Regions from separate parts of the Homo sapiens genome. Here regions 1, 3, 4, 5, 6 and 7 are each linked to region 2. The links are contacts of gene promoters, found by promoter capture Hi-C in blood cells and fetal thymus (Javierre and others, 2016). All regions are on one chromosome and are shown on one strand. Each heading gives the region's core, a stretch centred on a gene start or on the middle of the fragment in contact. The rest is flanking DNA. Distances are from core to core; before and after follow the strand shown.

Region 1 (2,923 bases), core at 233-2,732, 320 kb before region 2:
AGCCCCAGCTCCCACCCGTACCTCTCTCTCCACGCCTCCCCACAAGCAGAGGGAGCTGGCTCCACCCTCGGTCAGCCCCAGAGAGGGGCCCCCACAGCGCAGTGGGGGGCTGAAGGGCTCCTCAAGTGGGGCCAGAGTGGACACCGAGGCCAAGGAGGTGCTGAGAGCGAGCGAGGGCTGCTAGCACGTTGTCAGCCCTCATTGCTGTTGTTGCGGTCTTGCCAATGCACTACAATGTTACGGTCTTGTTGTCTGAGGTAGTACCTGGAGTTCTTTGTCTCACGGCCAAGAAAATTAAGGTGCATAGACACAAGGATGAAGTTGGAACGAAAGTTTAATAAACAAAAGAACGCTCTCTGCAGCGGAGAGGGGGCCCAAAAGTGGGTTGCCATTTTTATAGCTGAATCCAAAAGCTTTTGTAAGAAACTCCCCTCATTTCTGCAGCTGTTTGTGTAACTTCCCTTATCTGTGAAGCTGTCTGTGTAACTCCCCTTATCTGTACAGCTGAAAGCACGTCTTTAGGCAGGCACAAAGTGCAGTTTCTCTTGTTTGTGCAATGGTGTGTATGTTTTGAGTAAGAACCCCTGCTCCCCATGCAAGTTCCCCCAGAGCCCACTGTGTACATACCTGAAAAGGGGAGGAAACTTTTTCCTGGGAGCCCACAATTACACTAAGAATGAAGGCTTCTATGTTAGGCCTTGCTTTCTTATCTGTGCAGCTACAGCCTGAGATTTCCCCAGGTGGCTTTATGCGTGCCTGTAGGTTGATTCTTCAGGATGTCTTTCTGTTTAAAAGAATTTTACCAAAGACCAACTTTAGCTGTCTGCCAAACTATTTTCCTTTCCTCCTCCCTCGCTGTGTCACTCAGGCTGGAGTGCAGTGGCACAATCATGGCTCACTGCAGCCTCGACCTCCTGGGCTCAAGCAATACTCCCACCACAGCCTCCTGAGTAGCTGGGACTACCAGTGTGCACCATCACACCAGGCTAATTTTTAAAAATTTTTTATGGAGATGGGGCCTCACTATGTTGCCCAAGCTGGTCTTGAACTCCTGGATTCAAGACAGCCTACTACCTCAGCATCCCAAAGTGCTGAGTTTACAGGTGTGAGTCACCATGCTTGGCCAAAGACATTTTTAATCTGCCCAATTTTCCTGCCCTACTCCACACCACATCCAATATCCAAGGATGGAGCAGAAACAAGATAACCATGATAAAACTCCCACTTTTGTTAAAAGGAAAACTTAAGGCAAATAATTAAATTTAACAGAGTTTAACTGAGCAAAGAATAATTCAGAATAGGTTCAGCACAACTCTGGGGATGCCACATGGTCAGATAATACTTAAGGACAGAAAAAAGAAGGCAAGGTACAGAAACAGTTAGATTGGTTACAGCCTGGCATTTGCTTTATTTGAACATGGTTTAAACAGCTGACCACCTGTGACTGGCCAAAACTGAGATTGGTGTAAGAGTAGATTACAGGCCAGGCACGGTGGCTCACACCTGTAATCCCAGCACTCTGGGAGGCCGAGGCGGGCGGATCACGAGGTCAGGAGATCCAGACCATCCTGGCTAACATGGTGAAACCCCGTCTCTACTAAACATACAAAAAAAAAAAATTAGCCGGGTGTGGTGGCGGGTGTCTGTGGTCCCAGCTACTTGGGAGGCTGAGGCAGGAGAATGGCATGAACCTGGGAGGCGGAGCTTGCAGTGAGCCAAGATCGCGCCACTACACTCCAGCCTGGGCAACAGAGCAAGACTCCATCTCAAAAAAAAAAAAAGAGTAGATTACAGTCTGTTCATGCATTCAGCTGGATTATAGTTCACTATATATGGAGAAAATTTAGGCTGAACTTAAAATATGTAAGGAGGTAGCTGTAGGCAATTTTGAGAGATTGACCAAAACTTTAAGCATTGACTTCACTCTTTCACCATTATAAATCCATTTATTTGGTCTCAAATCCCACTGGGAAATAGAACAGTGGGTTTTGTAAGCTGGGAACAAGGACAAAGAACAATAGGGAAAAAATGGTTGTTTCAGACTACTTTTTGTAAGGAATAGAGCAGAGGGGCCCTCCTTATTATGCTGGAATCTCCTGTTTTAAGAAGACAGAAAAAAAAAAACCTGGTCCATTTTGGGATTTATCTGCTTTTTAAAAGTTTCAGTTTGATCACATAACATTTAGCATGAATGGTTTCATTTTGTTTTGGTCTGTCAGCGCCTAGTGCAAGAAGTCAGTTCAGAACAATGGCTTCCTATCATTTTGTTTAACAATTCAATAAGGGAAAGGTAGGAAATACAGAGAGGTCTCTGGTGCACAGGAGTGATCAAATCCTGCTAGACAGAAAAATCAAAGAATTTACTGTAGCAGTGAAATAGTCTGCTTAGCCCAGTTTGCTACCTGGAAATAACTCTCATGTCCTCTGGGGACCCAGATGTGCATAATAAAAGGTACTTTCTCAACCGTTACTACCAAGGCCAAATTTAAAGTAGATTGGGCAGTATGCCATACTTTGGAACTGGTTTGGGATTCAGCAATAACAAGCTTTTACAAGCTAAGCTTGTTATTTCTTTGGCAATACAATTCCCTTGAAATCTTAGTAGGCTTCTAGTTTTTTTTGTTGTTGTTGTTGGTTTGTTTTTTGTTTTTTTGTGTTTTGTTTTTTGAGACAGAGTCTCACTCTGTCACTCAGGCTGGAGTGCAGTGGTGCGATCTAAGCTCACTGCAACCTCTGACTCCCAGGTTCAAGCAATTCTCCTGCCTCAGCCTCCCAAGTAGCTGGGATTGCAGGAATGTGCCACTCTGCCCAGCACATTTTTTTCTATTTTTAGTAAACATTGGGTTTTGCCATGTTGGCCAGGCTAGTCTTAAACTCCTGGCCACAAATGATCCAACCTCCCCAAGACCTCCCAAAGTGCTGG
Region 2 (2,708 bases), core at 10-2,509:
GGGGTGCTCGGGGCGAACTGTGTCAGGAAGGAGGTGGGGGGACAGGGGAAGACGCAGCCTGCGAGGCAGAAATCCGGCCAAGGGCAGGCGGCCGCCGCGTTCTCACCTGGGGGGTCCTTTCGGGGGGATTCTTCATCACCGCCTGGCGGAAGCTGTTATCTACGTAGGACGCCATCTCCCCTCTGGGAGCGGGCCGGGGCCGCTCCGCACCCTGGCCGGCCTCCTCCCGGCCCAGCGCCGCTGCTGCCTCCGCCCTGCGCGCTGCGCCCGCCCGCCCGCCCGCGACTAATCAGCCAAACCGCGGCGGCGGCGGCGCGGGGCCCGCGGGGGGGCGGCTCGGCTGGGCCCGGCGGCCGAGAGCGCGGTACAGGCGCGAGGGGCTGGACGCAGCCGGGAGGGTCGCGGCGCCCCTAGGCTGCCGTGCGATGCGGCCCGCAGGCGGAACTCCCCTTCCTCCTCCTCCTCCTCTTCCTCGCCGCTCCGCCGGCTTCCTCCGGCCCTGGCTCGACACGCCTCCCCGGCTCCACTCGGGGGACAGTGGCGGCTCCTCCTGGCCCCAGCGGGCCCGAGTTATTTTTAGGGAGGTACGAGTGGCAGTGGGGAGGGCTGTGGGCAGGCGGAGCCTCCTCCCCCACGGCGCTGAGGGTCGCCCCCTCCTCTCAGGGGCTTGCGCAGCCGCCGCCCAGGGGTCTCCGAGAATCACTTGGATCTTCCGCGTCCCCAGTCCTCGGGCGCCTCGGCCGCCGGTCGGGAGGACGGACCAGGTGGGTCTGGCTCAGGTCCGGGCGCTGCGAAGCCCGATCGCCTCGGCCGCCGCTCCTGGTCTCTGTCTACTGGGCTCGGCCGTCCCTCCCGACTGCTGCTGCATCCCCTCGGGCCGCCCAGCCGCCGCCGCCGCCGCCTCTGCTGCTCGGGCCGCCGCTGTGGGCTCCGCCGCCGCCGCCTCCCCCCATCAGCGCGCCCGGAGCGGAGCTGCCCCGGCGCCGGCGCCGCCGCGGCCAGAGCACCCGGCCCGGGCTGCAGCCCTCCGGCCCAGTCGCTCTCGGCAACTTTGTTCCTCGTCTGCGCGGGGCGGAGGAGGGGGAAGAGGGGGCCGCGGACAGCCCGGGTTCGGACTCCCGGCGCGGGCGTCCGAGGGCCGAAAGCCGAGAGCCGCGCACAGCCCCCTCGGAGAGAGTGTTTGGGAAGCGGCGATTCCCCTCCTCTTCCTCCGCCTCTTCCTCCTCCTGCGCCTTCTCCGGCCGCCGGAGCCGCTCCTCAGGGAGGAAGCGGCCTCTGGGGCTTGTTGCTTTGTGCTGCAACCATGGTGAGGAATGAGTGACAGCGTGGGGGCGAGTCGGCGGCCGCCGCATCATCGGGGGGCGGGGCAGCCCCGTCGCGCCGGGTCCCGCCTCCCCGCTCCCCGCCCGCCAGCGGCCGCGCCCTCGCGTCTGAGCGGCACCTTCGGCGGCGCCCAGGTGAGCAGCGCTCTGGCCGCAAGTGGGTCGCGGAGCCCTCGGCCGGGCTGTCGGGTCCCGCGCGCGGCCTGGACCCGAAGAGGGGGCGCAAGTCCTGGTGCCCCGGAGAGAAGCGCAGGGCTTTCCTCACGCAGTGTCCCCCACTGTCTCACGCCGCGCCCCCTCCCCACACCCGACGCGCCCTACTAGGAGACCCAGCCGCGTCGGGTCGCTGCTCCCCGCCCGCTCCTGGCGCCACGCCGCCGCCCAGGGGCTGAAAGCTAACCTTGGGCAAAAGACCGGCCCACCAGCCCGGGCTGTACTGGGCATTCTTTTTGAGCCCAAGAGTTGCGTCCGAGTTGCTTCTGTGGCGATAAATCCTCTTAGGATTTATTTTGCTTATTTGTAATTTGCTGCACCCTCCCCTGCTTTCCAAGCCCACTCTGGCACCTCAGACAGTAAAATGACCACGAAATTAGGCAGAGAGGTTTCAACACCAGACCCACTACCACCCCTAGACCAACAAACACTCCAGATTTAAAGTTGATCACTCCTTAGCGACAGACCAGGATGGCAAGTTCTGTGACATAATCAGAAACATTTATTGGTAGGTCTGGCTTTGCCTTGGACAGAACAAGCCTCCTCCTCTAGATGCTCAAATTTCCAAACCGGACCCACATGGTGCAGAAACAATACCTCGTCCTTCAAGATGTCACCGCTCCTGCTGATTCCCTCAGCTCCCCCCCACTCCTTGCCCCGGCCACGTAGAGGTGTGTTAAGGTCAGCCCAAGCATCGGGGACCACTCTGCTGTTCTGGTCCCAGGGATTTATTTTTGTTTGCCCCCACCCCCCACAAGTTCTTATTTTGATATCTATAGACACAATGAGTTTTATGTATGAGCTACTGCGTTGAACTTTTCAAACATGATTTTCAACATCTAGTTTAAACACTTGGAATAGATTGTCAGCTAACATTTTGGGGTTCCTTAAGTCACCTGTGTGCACTAAACAGCTTGTGTGACTTCCTAGCAAAGGGACTGTCCCTGCCCAACCTTGTGAAAGGGAATCTGAGTTACAAATTGTATCTGTAGACCTTTTTATATTACTCTTGCTGGAACTGCTTCTCTATATTTCTCTTTCACCTCTTAGTTGAGCGCCAACATCAAATTCTCTATGACATAGGCCACTACCTTGAAAGCAAAGGAACATGAATAAGTGCCAATACAGCTCTGAAAAAAGGAGAGAGGCAGATAAAAGAATTCAAACCCAATG
Region 3 (2,971 bases), core at 163-2,662, 300 kb after region 2:
CAAGTAAGGTAGAAGGTGTCTGGAAGAGTTGCTGCAGAAATTCTTATGTAACACATTTGCTTACTCTACCTACTTCATCACAGAAAACTGCTCTATGGTAGTACCACTTTTCAGTGCTCCCAATCTCCACATCAGGACTAAAATTATTTAATTCATGAGAAGCATGTCTGAAAAACACCTAGCAGAGAACTCTTGGCTATCTCCAGCTCCCTTCCATTTGGATGTACAGCTATAACATAATTAAATCTTCTGTTAATGCTTTGGAACTTTCTGTTGCTGATGCCTGGATTCCTCAGCAGGCAATGCAGAGCTGTACAAAGTCCAGTCCCCTAAAATGCTGTCAGTATTGAGAAGCAGCAGCTCACATGCCCAAAACTACTACTGACAATTTAGCCACCTCATGGGCATGAAGGTAAAACCTTCTCATCATTCTGTACCTTCTCATATGCCTTGCTCTAACCAACTACACACCTATGTCTCACACTAGACTGGTCTCTGTTTTCCTGGAAAGGAATGTTTTTGTGAATAGCCTTCTCTCTTACATTTACAACATTTTTAAGCATTTATAATTTTTAACATTTATAACATTGAGATACAACTATTTATCTGACAGAGGAATAAAAAATTCATTCAGGCTACTGTAAATGGCATCATACAAATACATATTATTGCCATTAGGGTAATTTTGGAATTACTAAGAGTTATTCATTAATCTGTGTTATAATTACACAAGCCACCAAATGGGATTAAACAAAACAAAGAACATCTGACATTCTTCCAGTTTATAAAGGCATTTCATTGCTTTTGTAGAATAATTTATGAACTCACTTTTAAAATGTGCTATCTAAAGACTTAAAACTCCACTCACTTCATCTTTTCAAATATTTCATGTGCCAGACCCTGTTAGGATGCTGATGATACATGAACCAAACCCCTGCCACCTTTATGAAGTTTACATGATAGTGGCAGAAGAAAATCAATAATTCAGAAAAATATTCAGTGTGCCAAAACAAATGGTGAGTGCTATAGCAGAAGATGAAGCAGGGGAAGGGTAAGCAATAGGGAATATTCAGTGGGAGGGAAACTTATCTAATTATCCATCTCTTATATATGGAGAGTAAAGACTTGGATTAAGAAAAAATCTAGAAGGGCCAGGTGTGGTAGCTCACGTCTGTGATCCCAGCACTTTGGGAGGCCGAGGTGGGAGGATCACTTCAGTTTAAGAGTTTGAGAGCTCCCTAGGCAACACAGCAAGACCCTGTCTCTGTAAGAAATTTAAAAGTAATCAGGCATGGTGGTGCGTGCGTGTAATGCTAACTACTCAAGAGGCTGCGGTGGGAGGATCATTTGAGCCCAGGAGTTTGAGGCTGCGGTGAGCTATAATCACACCACTGCGCTTTGGCTTGAGTGACAGGGCAAGACCCTGTCTCTAAAAAACAACAACAACAAAAATTTAAACAAAAACAAAAAAACCTAGAAGCCTTGGTGTTTTAAAGGCTGTCAGTGTAAATAGTTGTAAACAGGATAAAGAGGAAAATGAAATTAGTGTGCCAACAGTCTCAAAGCAGATGTGGTGATGGAGTAACAGGTCTCCCAGTGGTGTGGGAGAAGGTCTTGCCAGAAGCCCCTCTCTTCTCTCAACACTAGTGATAGGAAGGCTGGGCAAGAAGTTTTCTCTGGAGCCTGTGGCACTCCTGGCTCCCTCTTGACTCATGCCAGTGGAGAGATGGCAGCTTCCATCCCAAATTCCACTGCTACCACCCTAATCGAAGCCTGGTGGATTTGGGGTTTTTTGTTTTGTTTTGTTTTGTTTTGAGACAGGGTCTTGCTCTGACACCCAGGCTAGAGTGCAGTGGCAAGATCACACCTCACTGCAGCCTCGACCTCTAGGCTCGAACAATCCTCCCACCTCAGCCTCCTGAGTAGCTGGGACTACAGGCATGCGCCACCATACCTGGCTAATGTTTGTGTTTTTTGTAGACATGGGGTCTCACCATGTTGCCCAGGCTAGTCTCAAACTCCTGGGCTCAAGCAATCTGCCCGTCTCAGCCTCCCAAGGCGCTAAGATTATAGGTGTGAGCCACCATGCCCAGCAAAGCCCAGTGTTTTGCCAGGACTACCGTAATAGCCTTCGTACTGGTATCTCACTCATTCTTGGCCTGCTACAAATCCATTCAATGGAAGTCAATGTGTATAACAGAATAACAAAGTCAATGAGAATTATTAAAGGAAATCTATGTAGAGGTTAAGTTAGTGACAGTTCTCCTTCAGTTTTGGTTTGACAGGCAAAAATAGTGATACCTACCCAAAATATAGCTATAATTAAAGGTTTCTCATGCAATACATTCATTGCTAGTAAATTAAGTCAGAAAGACTCTTAAAGTGCTCTAAGAGTTCTAATAGCTACGACAACTAAGAAAGCTGCTTGGGAGCTGACAGAAATCAATTTAGGAGAAGAGAAAGCTGGGAAATGAAAGACTGGGAAAGGATATTCAGCTCTGAATCAGCAGACTCTCATTTCTCTGAGTCAGTTCCTCATGATCAGGCTGAGTACAAGGAACTCAGGAGACGCCAGCCACCAGCGCGTAGTCACTGTCAGCAGGGTCCCTGCTGAGAGAGGGTGTCATACCAGGGAACAGAACCTTGGACGACAAGGCAAGAGTTAAGTCTAGTTCTGGCCTAGTCATCCACTACCTATGTGACTTTGGGGAAAGACACTAGACTCTCTGGGCCTCAGTTTCCTTAACCATAAATAGACAAGAATTGTTGGAGATGTTAAATGTGAGCATTTGAAAATCCCTTTGAAAAACTATAAAATTCTAGACAAATGCGACGTGTTAATTTTTATATACACAAGCCCAAAAGTACTCACTGTCCTATTTGAGTTGCTAAACTCATAGATGATTGCACTGTATTTATACAACATGAAGCCAAGATAAATAACTTTGGCCACAATGATACCTGGCAAATA
Region 4 (2,990 bases), core at 483-2,982, 290 kb after region 2:
TCTGAAGGAGAAAAGTACAAGTTCTTTTGAGGTGAGAGGGACACTGAGTGGGCAGGTCACTGTGGCAGTCAAGACTCTGCCCCTTGCCTTCTGATGTTGTTGTTGCTGTTATTAATAGTTCCTTCCTTTTTTCTGCTTAAAAAACCCACAGAGGTCAGGTGCAGTGGCTCATGCCTGTAATCTCAACACTTTGGGAGGCCAAGGCAGGAGGATCGCTTGAATCCAGGAGTTTGAGCAATATAGTGAGATTCTGACTCTACAAAAACAAAACAAAAAACCCCCATAGAATCTCTATAAATGGCCCATTTTTCCCCAAAATGGTTCCCTTAATTCTTAAATGCACATTATTTATTCTTTTCTGATATCTATAAACTAGAAACTACTTGTACTTAAAAATAGCCAAACTGACAAAAAAAAAAGAGCTTTACTGTTCATCTCCATGCATATATTAATTCAATAATCACTGAGCTAATTTTTTTTTTTTTTTTTGAGACAGAGTCTCACTCTGTCTCCCAGGCAGGAGTGCAGTGGTGCAATCTCGGCTCACTGCAACCTCCACCTCCTGGGTTCATGCGATTCTCCTGCCTCAGCCTCCCAAGTAGCTGGGATTACAGGCGCCCACCACCACACCTGGCTAATTTTTTTGTATTTTTAGTAGAGAGGGGGTTTCAGCATGTTGGCCAGGCTAGTTTCGAACTCCTGACTTCAACTGATCCGCCTGCTTTGGCCTCCCAAAGTGTTGAGATTACAGGCATGAGCCACTGCGCCTGGCCGAGCTAATTCTTTTACACCCTTGTCAGCATAATCAAAGCCGTCAACACATTATTATATTCCTGGATTACTGAAATACATATTGGTCTGCAATTATAAAAGGTAACATGCATCAAGATGATTTCATATCTTTCCCCTCCCTCATTTTGGGAAATCATATACTAATAATAGACAACGGAATAAATTTCAAAGTAAATACCCAAGACATTGCCTTATATGTTATTCACTTCTAGATCTAATTAAACCGTATGCAGATAAGGTAATACTTCCATTTTCCAAGAAGTTTCCAGAGGTCAAAAGCATGATTCTCTGTGTAAGGTCTCTCGTTTGCAAGATGAAAGAACCAAAATAAATAGACAATTGTCACCTATTTTGGGTTGTAAAATACTATCTCTAAAAGAGATAGGTTAAAATAAATATATATATATATACTCGTGACCCAGCAAGTTCACTTCTAGGAATGAATCCTACAGATTAATTTGCACAGGCACAAAATGATTATGTACAAAAAGGTAATGACTGCAGCACTGTTTGGAAACAAATTGTCAGCAGGATGATTAAATAAATTATGGTACATCCATACAAGGGAGTGCTATACTGACACAGCAAAGAATAAGGAAGCTCCTTAGGTAAGTATGTAATAAACTCCAAGACATATTTTTGACTGGAACGAAAATAAGTATAAAATATTGTGTATAGAAAGCTACCATAAGTCTAGAAAAAGGAAAAATTGGAGGTAAAGAACTCTGGGTTTTATTATACACGTATAGACTATCTCTAGAAGAAAAACAATGAATTGGTAATACTAGTTGACTCTGGAGTAGAAAGCTGGATTACTGGGCCGGGCGCGGTGGCTCACACCTCTAATCCCAGCACTTTGGGAGGCCGAGGCTGGCGGATCACGAGGTCAGGAGATCAAGAGCATCCTGGCTAACACGTGAAACCCCGTCAAATTAGCTGGGCGTGGTGGCGGGCGCCTGTAGTCCCAGCTACTCGGGAGGCTGAGACAGGAGAACGGCGTGAACCCGAGAGGCGGAGCTTGCAGTGAGCGGAGCTGGCGCCACTGCATTCCAGCCTGGGCGAGAGAGCAAGACTCCGTCTCAAAAAAAAAAAAAAAAGCTGGATTACTGATGAAAAAGAAAGCAGAAGACTTTTCATTCTACACTCTTTACAGAGCAAAGGGAAAGGCTTTCTCTGCACCATGTAATAAACATCCATCAAAACAGCATAGTGAGAAGGAGTGTAGACTGGACCCAGACATCCTGGGCTCAGGTCCTACCTCTGCCTCTTCCTAGCTATGTAACTTTGGTGAGTTACCTAATCTCTTTGTTCCTCAACAGCCTCATCTGCAAAATGGAGATAATATAATAGTACCAACCTTACAAGTGCTGTTTTGGTGACTAAATGTAAAGCACTTAACACGGAGTCAGGCACGCTGACTGTGCTCTAAACATGCACCACAATTTTGTGCCTTTTGAATATTAAGCCGTGTGACTGTATTGTCTCTTGAAAAAGTAAAAACAAACAACAAAGATGAGGACTACAACAGGAACACCCTATTTTTTTAAACCCAAAGAATCTATCATTGCTTTAAGACAAGCCCTTAACTACTGTTTCCTTTAAGAGGCTTCTTGGTAGCTAAAGCATGAGGCAGTGGGTGAACTCCTACAGGGAAACCACCTTAATGAATTCCAGGCATTCAGATTCAGTTTTCAAATATGTAGTTTGGCCTAGACAATGGCATTTATTGAGCTTTCTTCTCAACACTTGTACACTACATTTTCCTGTCCTTCATCCCCTCCCTCCCCCAAAGACAGGAGAAAGTTTCTCTCTAAAAAAGCAACCCCTTTTCTCATTGATTAAACCCATGTATGTCTTTCAGTTTATGATTGCTGTTCTAGTGGTGTATCAGATGGATTCCCATCATATTAAATAACTGCCTTTTTTACTGCATAATTCATGCAGAGCCTAGAGACACCAATTCCAGAAGGTCTGGTGTTTGCATGTAGGCAGGGGAAGGCTGGTGATAAGAACTGCACAGCACATGCACAAATAATTGCCTAATATTTTAGAGTTTACCAAACACTTTTACAGAATTCAACTGAGCTGACCTTCTCAAATGTCCTGTGAGAGTCTGTATTATATAACGTTTTACACGGAAGTTAGGAGACTTTAACAAGGTTATGTCCAGTAAGTGGCTAAGTCAGGACTAAAATCAG
Region 5 (2,726 bases), core at 74-2,573, 320 kb after region 2:
TATTTTTTGCCCACACATTTTATAGGATATTTATGGTCAGGCAAGGTGGCTTATGCTTGTAATCCCAGCACTTTGGGAGGCTCAGGGTGGGGGAATCACTTGAGCCCTGGAGTTCAAGACTACGCTGGGCAACACAGTGAGACCACCCCCGCTCCCGTCTCTACAAAAAAAAAAAAAAAAGGTGGGTATGGTGGTGCATGCCTGTCTGTGGTCCTAGCTACTTGGGAGGCTGAGGTGGGAGGGTCACTTAAGCCCGGGAGGTTGAGGCTACAGTGAACTGTGATTGTACCACTGCTTCCAGCCTGGGTGACAGAGTGAGACTCTATCTCAAAAAAAAAAAAAAAAACCACGACCAACAAAGGATATTTACCCACAATCTCATCACCCCATAATGTCAACTGTTCTTTATTATTTTTCTGTTTTTCTTTCTAGTTCTTGGTCATACATTTGCATATTTTACTAATATATTCATCTTGTAGATACCAACTGTTGCTGGTTGTTTTCATTTAACATAAACATTTTATATTAACACTGTCTTCATAATCATTTAACTATTATATTACTATCCTACAAAGCTGACATAACAATTTAGATACTTCCCTGCTGCTGGACAATTGTTAAGATCCTTTTATTTAACATTATAATGATAATATATAAAGAACATCTTTGTGCACAAACATTTGTTTTTTTAAACATTTTCATGCACAAAAGTTTTTTCTCTTAAGTTACTGAGTCAAAAAAGTATGAGCATTTTTAAGTCTGGAAAGCACAGCCAAATTGAGCTGTAAAAGAGTTTAACAATCTGCACACATGTTGAACTAGACAAGTGATCAACAACTACTAAGAATGAGCTAGGGTCCAAGTTTCCCCACCACCCTACCACTGCTATTTCTTCAGGGTACTTTAAATCATCTCCACTAAACAGCCGCTATCATATGCTGTTAGTAGGCGTATAAACAGGTGCAACCTCTCTGGAGTGCGGTTTGGCAGAAATTCCAACCTGGGTTCTCATCCTGGAAATATACTTGAGCTTATGGCATAAGAATCTTTCAACCAGGAAGTTCACCATTTCTAACAATAAAGCCTGAAAGTAAATACTCCATCAGTAGAGGACTGGTAAAATTACAGTAGTGCCCTCTTATCCACAGGCGATACCTTTCAAGACTTCCAGTGGATGCCTGAAACAGTGCTTAATGCCAAACCCTGTATATACTATGTTTTTTCCCATACATACCTATGATAAAGTTTAATTTATAAATTAGGCACAGTAAGAGATTAACAACAATAACTAATAATAAAAATAGAACAATTATAATATACTATAATCATAGTTATGCGAACGTGATCTCTTTCTCAGGAAATATCTCATCATACTATAGTCACCCTCCTTCTCCTTGAGATGATGTGAGATGACAAATGCCTATATGATAAGATGAAGTGACAGTGGAGATTCCATTGTGCTACTCAGAATGGTGTGCAATTCAAAACTTAGGAATTGTTTATTTCTGGAATCTTCTTTCTTCTTTTTTAAATGGTACTGCTCCTTGCAGAGCAGAGCTAACTCACAGGCAGTGCACCCAGAGTTGCTCCATTTCTTGAATTTTTGATTTAATATTGTCAGACTGAGGTTGACAGCAGAAAGTGAAACCTCAGATAAGGGAAGACTATTGTAGTGTGCTTGGCTGCATATGCAAATTACCCAAGGAGAGTTTCATGAAGACAAACATAAAGCCCCAGCCCAGATCTATTAAATCAAGATCTCTGAGAAGCAGTCTGGACATTTAAAGCTCTCTAGGTGACTTTAGTGTCTGACCAGACTTGAGAACTACTGGGTTAAGTGTTATACATGAATTTATTCAAAGGAATACAAAGCAACTTTTAGCAAAATGATGAACAGTGTAGGCAGCAACTACCACTCTGTCTGAGGGAAAGAATTTTTTTTCCTGTATTTGCATAGAGTATTTCCAAAAGGATACGAAAGAAACTGGTACAGCAATGGTAGCCTTTGGGAAGGGGGATTGGGGTGTGAAAAGGCTTACATTTCAACATATTTTATATGAACTTTTAACCAGATATGTTTGAAAAAATCTTAAAATAAAATCATAATTTCATGTATAAGCAATTTCTCAGGTACACATGGCACTAAGCAATATATGGCAACCCCACTGCAGGGCCAGTTACCAGCGTCCACATGGTCTTCCGTGGAGCCTGTGCACTCAGCACCAAGTGGCTACCAGGGGTCCATCTCTGCCCTCTGGGTAGGGCAGGGCCAGTAGTTCCGGCCGCCCCCTTCTGCCCTAGCAACTAACTTACTCAATGTACCATTCTAAAGCAAACAGTCATTGCCTGATATGCTTGGAGAAAATGTTTACTCATGGCTCACCTCCTCACACAGGGTAGGCCACCATTAATGATATGTTAGTCTGGCACATTCTTTTTAAAGAACATGTCAGATTCGCAAATCCATTTCTAAATTAGTTTCTCAAATGGAAAAATCATACATGGAAAGCAGAGATGATTCCATCTTTTTTCTAAAGTGCTTACTTCATTTAACATGCAAATATAGTCTTCGCAGGGTTCAGAATATCAATATTGTTTTCACAATTAAGTGTACTATTATCTTAAATTTGAGAGAACCAATTTGCTCATTTCATTCCATAATGTATTTCAGTTTTACCAAGCCATACAAGAATTCAAATGAATCTGAAAAGTATATAGAGAAGAGT
Region 6 (3,063 bases), core at 513-3,012, 280 kb before region 2:
TTCCTCTGGCCTCCATAGTTTCTCCTTATAAATCTGTTGTCATTCAAATTGTTTTTCCAGTATAACTAACGTATCTTTTTTGTCTCAGTGCTTTCAAGGTTTTTCTCTTTGTCTTTTAGTTTTCAAAAGTTTCATAAGTTTGACTGGGATGTGTCTTAATGTAAATTTATTTGGATTTATCTTGTTTGTGGTTTGCTCAGTATCTTCAATCTGTAGGTCTGGGTAGTTTTCAGCCATTATTTCTTCAATATTTTTTGAGCTCCATCCTCTTACTCTTCTCCTTTTAGAACTCTGATACCAAGAATGTTAAATCTTTATAGTCCCATAATTCCCTGAGGTTTGTTCTTTTTTTTTGTTTGTTTGTTTTTCAATCTTTTTCTCTCTGTTCTTCAGATTGGGTAATTTCTATTGTCCTATCTTCAAGTTCATTATTTCTTTCCTCTGTCCCCTCTATACTGTTTTGAGTCCATTCACTGAATTTTAGCTATTATATTTTTCAGTTCTAAACTTTTCATTTATCTTTTTGTATATCTTTTATTTCTTTGCTGATATAATACTGTCTATTTTTTATTTGTTTCAAGCATGTTTATAATGCTTACTGAAACATATGATGATTTCCTTGAGACCTTTATCAGATAATTCTAACATTGCTGTCGTTTCAGTGTTAGGATCTATTTATTATCTTTTTTTCATTCAGTTTGAGGTCTTCTTTATTCTTGGTATGAGTGATTTTTCTATTAAAACCTAGATATTTGTGTATTATATTGAGGTTTGGGATCTTATTTAAATTTCTTGCAAAGGAAAATGGGAGTGGGGAGTGAGCTGCCTGATTACTGCCAGATGAGGTCAAGTTTCAGGTTCCCACCTGGCTCCCACTGAGACCTGAGGGGAGGGGCTACTCATGACTGTTAGGTGAGAGTGGAAGTCCTGCTTCGCATTCAGCCTCTACTCCTGGCTGGGAGGGGTAGAAGAACCTTATTACTGCTCCCCTCTTGGCCTGACATTATGTTGGAGAAGTGGCTTAGGTGAAAGCTTTGTCTCCAGTAGGTCTCCTTTGAGGCCACCCTAGAAGGAAGGGGCAAAGGCATCTCATTACCACTGGATAGGTGTGGAAATCCATGTGGTATCCACTGACACTGCATGAGAGGGATGAAAGTTCCATCTCCCTACTCAGTTTTCTCTGACACTTGTCCAGTGAGAGAGTGGGAGGTGGAGGCTGGTGCTACTGCCATTACATCCTGGGGACAGTGCAAGTCTGCTTCCTCTTGAGCTTTCACTGGGAGTGGGGCTAACATTTTTTCTGTGGTGTTTGGCTGGAGTGGAGCAGTTATTGTCCAATCTTTGTCTCATATATGTATTTTTATGTGTGTGTGTGTGTGTGTGTGTGTGTGTGTGTGTGTGTACATATATTTTTTTTAAATAGAGATGGTGTCTTGCTATGTTGCCCAGCAGGCTGGTCTTGAACTCCTGAGCTCGAGCTATCCACCCACCTTGGCCTCCCAAAGTTCTGGGATTACAAGCGTGAGCCACTGCGCCCAGCCTGTCTAATCATTATCTGTCTCATTAGCTACCCATCTCTTGTTCTTTCAGCTGGAGAGGGCAGGCTTTTGGTAATTTTTGTTTTGTTTTGTTTTGTTTGGCGTGCATTCATTGGTATTTCGGGGTTACGAGTTTCTTTATCTATGAGTCTGGGATATGTGAGTTAAAAAGAAAACCCAGGGAACACACTGCCTCTGGTCCTGTGGTCTCCAGCCAGTCAGCCTTCTCCACCTTTCAGAGTCATCATATGCTTGTTTAATATGTAAAGTCTAGGGTTTGTAGTTGTACTTTGTGAAAGCAATAGGGAATAGTACATTCATTCAATGGATAAGGCATTGGCCTCCTTAAGGGTTGGGCTTTGGGAATAGTATATTCATTCTATCTTCCAGAAGTGGATTTTTTTTTTTTAAAGAAACTGCAGTAAGCTATTATACACACAAGAGGTCTCTTCTGACATACACTTTTGTTTTTTACTCAAGAAAGGCTAATTTTTAGCATTCTCAAACATAATTCTGAAGGATTAATTTGTCATTTTATTTTAAATTCTTAAATATCCAAATTTTCTTCCTTCTCATCTTGAAAAAAATCAGCTTTATCTCATCATTTTCTCAGGTTTATGTTATTCAATAGGGGAGACTATGAGCCTGACAAAACTGTGACATCATTATTATGTATCCACATTAATCAGTGTATTTTTGACACACTGCATTCATTAAAGTCTTTGAAGGAAACATATCACTGCCTTCAAAGATATTACATTCTAAAAATACAAAGTAAAATGTAAAGTAAGATTTCAGAATTTCGAAATTAGGCCGTTTTAGTTAGGAAGAATAAGTTCTAGTGATCTATTGCATATCAAAGTGGCTACAGTTAACAATAATGTATTGTATATTTTAAAATTGCCAAAAGAGTAGTTTATAAATGTTTGCCCTGCAGAGAAATGATAAGCTTGTGAGGTGATGAATATGTTAATTAGCCTGGTCTGCTCATTCCACAATGCACACATACATTAAGACATCATTGTACCACATAAATATTATGCAATTATTATTGTCAATTTAAAATTAATAATTAAAAATTAAAAAAAAATTGAAATTGGTTTATTCACATATCTTTCACACACAAAGAAGCATTCATTGAAAACCTACATTGTTCCCACATCATGAAGATAAATGCAATTTACAATAAACAATCTTTCCCATTTTAATCAATATTTGTAGCTGGAGTGAGACAAGAGATGTTCTAATTCTTGAATCTCTAAACTTGTGTTTATCAAATGTAAACACAAAAGTGAGTTAAATATTGCAACAGGAAATTGGGGCTATCCTAGTTGATTGTCAGCTCCTACTGAGCAGGCAGTGTTGCCTGCTCATAACCCCTCACCCTCATTCCTTCATCTCCTCTCAGGATAGAATGATCAATCTTTTCAAGTGTCACCACAGAAATTTAAATTGGAACGCTTAGTGCCTTTGGAAATGTAGATTACCATTCCAGTTCAAGTGTAGGTGAAGGTCATAAGCTGCT
Region 7 (2,888 bases), core at 192-2,691, 300 kb before region 2:
TGATGCCCAGAGTCAAGATGGTAGGAACAACAGTGAACCGGACACGAAGATCGTCAATAAGAGGGGAAGGAGTAACCAGGAGAATGGTAGAGAATTGCAATGTGAAGAGGTAAAGGCAGGTCTAGTTTGATGGCATGAGTTTCAGAAGATCAAAACTGTTTTAGGAAATACTATGACCAATGGCTTGGAAAGAGCAATGGGGAGCCAGGAGCTACCTGCCCCACCTCTAGGCCTTGTCTGAACAGAGAGCATGAGGAAAGGACCAGCCATGTGTGAGAGGGCTTCTGAAGAAGCTAAGCTTTCAAGGGCAGCCAGACCTCAGTCAGAGCAGCACTATGTTGTTGTTGTTGTTGTTGAGACAGGGTCTTGCTCTGTTGTCACCCAGGCTGGAGTGCAGTGGCACAATAATAGCTCATTGCAGCCACAATCTCCTGGGCTCAAGCAATCCTCCCATCTCAGCCTCCCAAGTAGCTAGGACTACAGAATGGCATGGGCTATTTTTTTGTAGAGACAGTCTCACTTTGTTGCTCCGGCTGGTCTCGAACTCCTAGCCTCAAGCAATCCTCCTGCCTCAACCTCCCAAAGTGCTGAGATTACAGTCATGAGCCATCACACCTGGCCAAAGCAGCACTATCTGATAGCAATATAATGTGAACCACATACATAATTTTAAATTTTCTACTAGCCACATTTCTTTAAATCAAACAGAAATAGGTAAACAATTTAATAACATATTTTACTTAATACAATATAGACAACATATTGTCATGAGAAACCATGGAGACCAAAAGGAAGTGACAACCACATTTTTGAAGGGCTACAAGAAAAGAACTGACAGCATAGAATTTTTTTTTTTTTTTTTTTTTTTTTTTTGAGACGGAGTTTCTCTCTTGTTGCCCAGGCTGGAGTGCAGTGGTGCATTGGGCCTAGTTAATTACTAATCTCAGCTCACTGGAACCTCCGCCTCCTGGGTTCAAGTGATTCTCCTGCCTCAGCCTCCTGAATAGCTGGGATTACAAGTGCCTACCACCAAGCCCGGCTATTTTTTGTATTTTTAGTAGAGATGGGGTTTCGCCATGTTGGCCAGGCTGGTCTCAAACTCCTGACCTCAGGTGATCCGCCCACCTCAGCCTCCCGAAGTGCTGGGATTACAGGCATGAGCCACCGCGCCCCGTCAGCACAGAATCTTATACCCACCTAAGTATCCTTCAAGATAGTTTAAGTTCCTTTTTTCATATGAAGTCTTCAAAATCCAGTATGTGTTTATGCTGATACCGCATCTCAATCTGGACTAGTCACATTTCAAGTGTTCAACAGCCACATATGGGTAATAGTGGCTGCATGGGAAAGCTCAGAGTTAAACAAGAAGGTGAAGGAAATGTTCCCAGATGAGAACGAAGACAGGAAATTGTACTGATGACACACTCTGAATTCCAGAGGCTCAGAGGAATGACTGAGGGTCACAGAGGTGTGGGAGCATGAGTCGGATGAGAGAATGTTCTGAACCCCATGGGAAAAACGGTAGGAGTAATGAAGGTTGACCTTGAAGGCTTGGACTTGGACTTTCAGTAGTAACTGAAGTAAACAGGTCCATAAGTGCTGGAGGATTTGTCCCAGGGCTCTCCTGCAGGGATGGGATAATCACCTCTCATTATAGCCTGCTCTAGGGCACTGGTGCCAGGCAATTTGTATCGGAGACAAAGAGAGAATGGAGGGATGGGGCCTGGTGGATTATCAGAGCCCTTGGGCTGTGTAGTGCTCCTTGGGTCCTGCCGAGGGAGGGCCTCAGGCTGGGGGAGAACCCAGAGTGCTCTCTGTATTCCTGCCCCAGTCTTGCTGCTGGCTGTGCGGGGTAAAAATAGAGGAAGCATGACGGGGAGTGGGGGGCTGGGCAGGGTTGGTTACTAAACAAAATAGCATTTTACCTGAGAAAAATAACACAGAATAGTGATACTGATGGCTGTCCTTAGCTAAAGGATGCTGACAACATTTTAAAAAGGAAATGAAATAAACAGAGCAGACTCAAGAAGGGGTGGAGAGAAGGCAAGAAAAGAGAAGCAGGCGGGAGAGGAAGAACAGAGGGTGTGGAGCAGGTCAGGAAGAGGGACTCAGAGGGGAGGAGTGAGCAGCAGGAAGCCTTCAGGCATTTTGTCCCCCTTGTTTCCAGGGACCCTAAGAAGATCAGATATCCATGGACTGGTGGCCCCTGTCCTGCAGATGGTGACCGTCAATGCCTAAGATCCAAGCCCTGCTCCCAGGCACACCCATCTAGACCCAAGGACACTTTCTCATTGCTGACGGGCTAGGCTGGCTGTGTCCCGCTTGGGTCTCCCCTGCTTCCCCCACAAAATCATGTGCATCCACAACTTATCTCATCTGTCCTTGGAATAAACCATAAATCCCTTCTTAGCATCTGTTTCCCATCAGAGTTCTTCCAAGGAGAGGGGCTGCTCCCCAGCCCTCAGCCAGCTCGTTCCCTCCAACTTGTCTTGTCAGTGCTGACTGTCCGCCTCAGAAATGCACCTCCCAGGATCAGAACAGTAGCTGCAGCATCTCCAAAGGCTTAGCTGCACTCCAAGCTTGTCCTCGGAAGTTTAGAAATGAGGAAATAGCCAGCAGCTGTTCTCAACGAGAAGGTGCAGCCAGCGTCCAGCCAGCAGCAGTTCTGCAGGGTGGGAGGTGGAGCGGGGGCGCGTGTGAAACTTCTCCCAGGCAGGTCCCCACAAGGTGGGAGAGGCAGCGAAAGCCTGGGGGGGAAGCTTCACTGTGATTAAAATGGTCTGCCTCATCCAGCAGCATCTTTGAGCGAAACATTATCTCAGTCTGTAAAAAAGAAGCCTGTGAGAAGGTTTCACTAGTTAGTCTAATTTTGGAATAGCATTCTACAC

Evidence for each region. The method cuts DNA at HindIII sites, captures the fragments that hold promoters and counts their contacts. A CHiCAGO score of 5 or more calls a contact.
Region 1: a contact is called between a fragment that was not itself captured here and the fragment with the promoter of RAPGEF2 in region 2, in 1 of 17 cell types (endothelial precursors). The highest score is 5.2, in endothelial precursors.
Region 3: a fragment that was not itself captured here is called in contact with the fragment with the promoter of RAPGEF2 in region 2 in 12 of 17 cell types (non-activated CD4 T cells, fetal thymus, naive B cells and 9 more); the score reaches 11.0 in non-activated CD4 T cells.
Region 4: a contact is called between a fragment that was not itself captured here and the fragment with the promoter of RAPGEF2 in region 2, in 13 of 17 cell types (total B cells, neutrophils, megakaryocytes and 10 more). The highest score is 12.5, in total B cells.
Region 5: a fragment that was not itself captured here is called in contact with the fragment with the promoter of RAPGEF2 in region 2 in 13 of 17 cell types (non-activated CD4 T cells, naive CD8 T cells, total B cells and 10 more); the score reaches 19.4 in non-activated CD4 T cells.
Region 6: a contact is called between a fragment that was not itself captured here and the fragment with the promoter of RAPGEF2 in region 2, in 1 of 17 cell types (endothelial precursors). The highest score is 9.4, in endothelial precursors.
Region 7: a contact is called between a fragment that was not itself captured here and the fragment with the promoter of RAPGEF2 in region 2, in 1 of 17 cell types (endothelial precursors). The highest score is 6.8, in endothelial precursors.

The regions. Positions count from the first base shown.
Region 1 is chr4:159,418,005-159,420,927 of GRCh38, reverse strand. No RefSeq gene overlaps it. Among named protein-coding and RNA genes, the nearest start is that of MIR3688-1, 290 kb to the right of the region's middle. The HindIII fragment of the contact is 2,133 bases long and covers 416-2,548 here.
Region 2 is chr4:159,101,630-159,104,337 of GRCh38, reverse strand. It overlaps RAPGEF2 (Rap guanine nucleotide exchange factor 2), which reads right to left and starts at 1,259. Exons shown (of 30, transcript NM_001394067.2): 1 at 107-1,259. The coding sequence starts at 175. RefSeq lists silencers at 120-539, 507-801, 550-839, 880-1,099, 1,230-1,769 and an enhancer at 1,418-2,109. The HindIII fragment of the contact is 5,553 bases long and covers 1-2,708 here.
Region 3 is chr4:158,796,542-158,799,512 of GRCh38, reverse strand. The region is part of intron 1 of FNIP2 (folliculin interacting protein 2); the gene reads right to left. Among named protein-coding and RNA genes, the nearest start is that of FNIP2, 29 kb to the right of the region's middle. The HindIII fragment of the contact is 4,816 bases long and covers 1-2,971 here.
Region 4 is chr4:158,814,284-158,817,273 of GRCh38, reverse strand. All of the region lies in intron 1 of FNIP2 (folliculin interacting protein 2), which reads right to left. Among named protein-coding and RNA genes, the nearest start is that of FNIP2, 47 kb to the right of the region's middle. The HindIII fragment of the contact is 7,790 bases long and covers 1-2,990 here.
Region 5 is chr4:158,777,192-158,779,917 of GRCh38, reverse strand. The region is part of intron 1 of FNIP2 (folliculin interacting protein 2); the gene reads right to left. Among named protein-coding and RNA genes, the nearest start is that of FNIP2, 9.5 kb to the right of the region's middle. The HindIII fragment of the contact is 7,658 bases long and covers 1-2,726 here.
Region 6 is chr4:159,383,760-159,386,822 of GRCh38, reverse strand. No RefSeq gene overlaps it. Among named protein-coding and RNA genes, the nearest start is that of MIR3688-1, 260 kb to the right of the region's middle. RefSeq lists an enhancer at 2,573-3,063. The HindIII fragment of the contact is 1,455 bases long and covers 1,035-2,489 here.
Region 7 is chr4:159,400,728-159,403,615 of GRCh38, reverse strand. No RefSeq gene overlaps it. Among named protein-coding and RNA genes, the nearest start is that of MIR3688-1, 270 kb to the right of the region's middle. RefSeq lists an enhancer at 1,094-2,293. The HindIII fragment of the contact is 2,281 bases long and covers 301-2,581 here.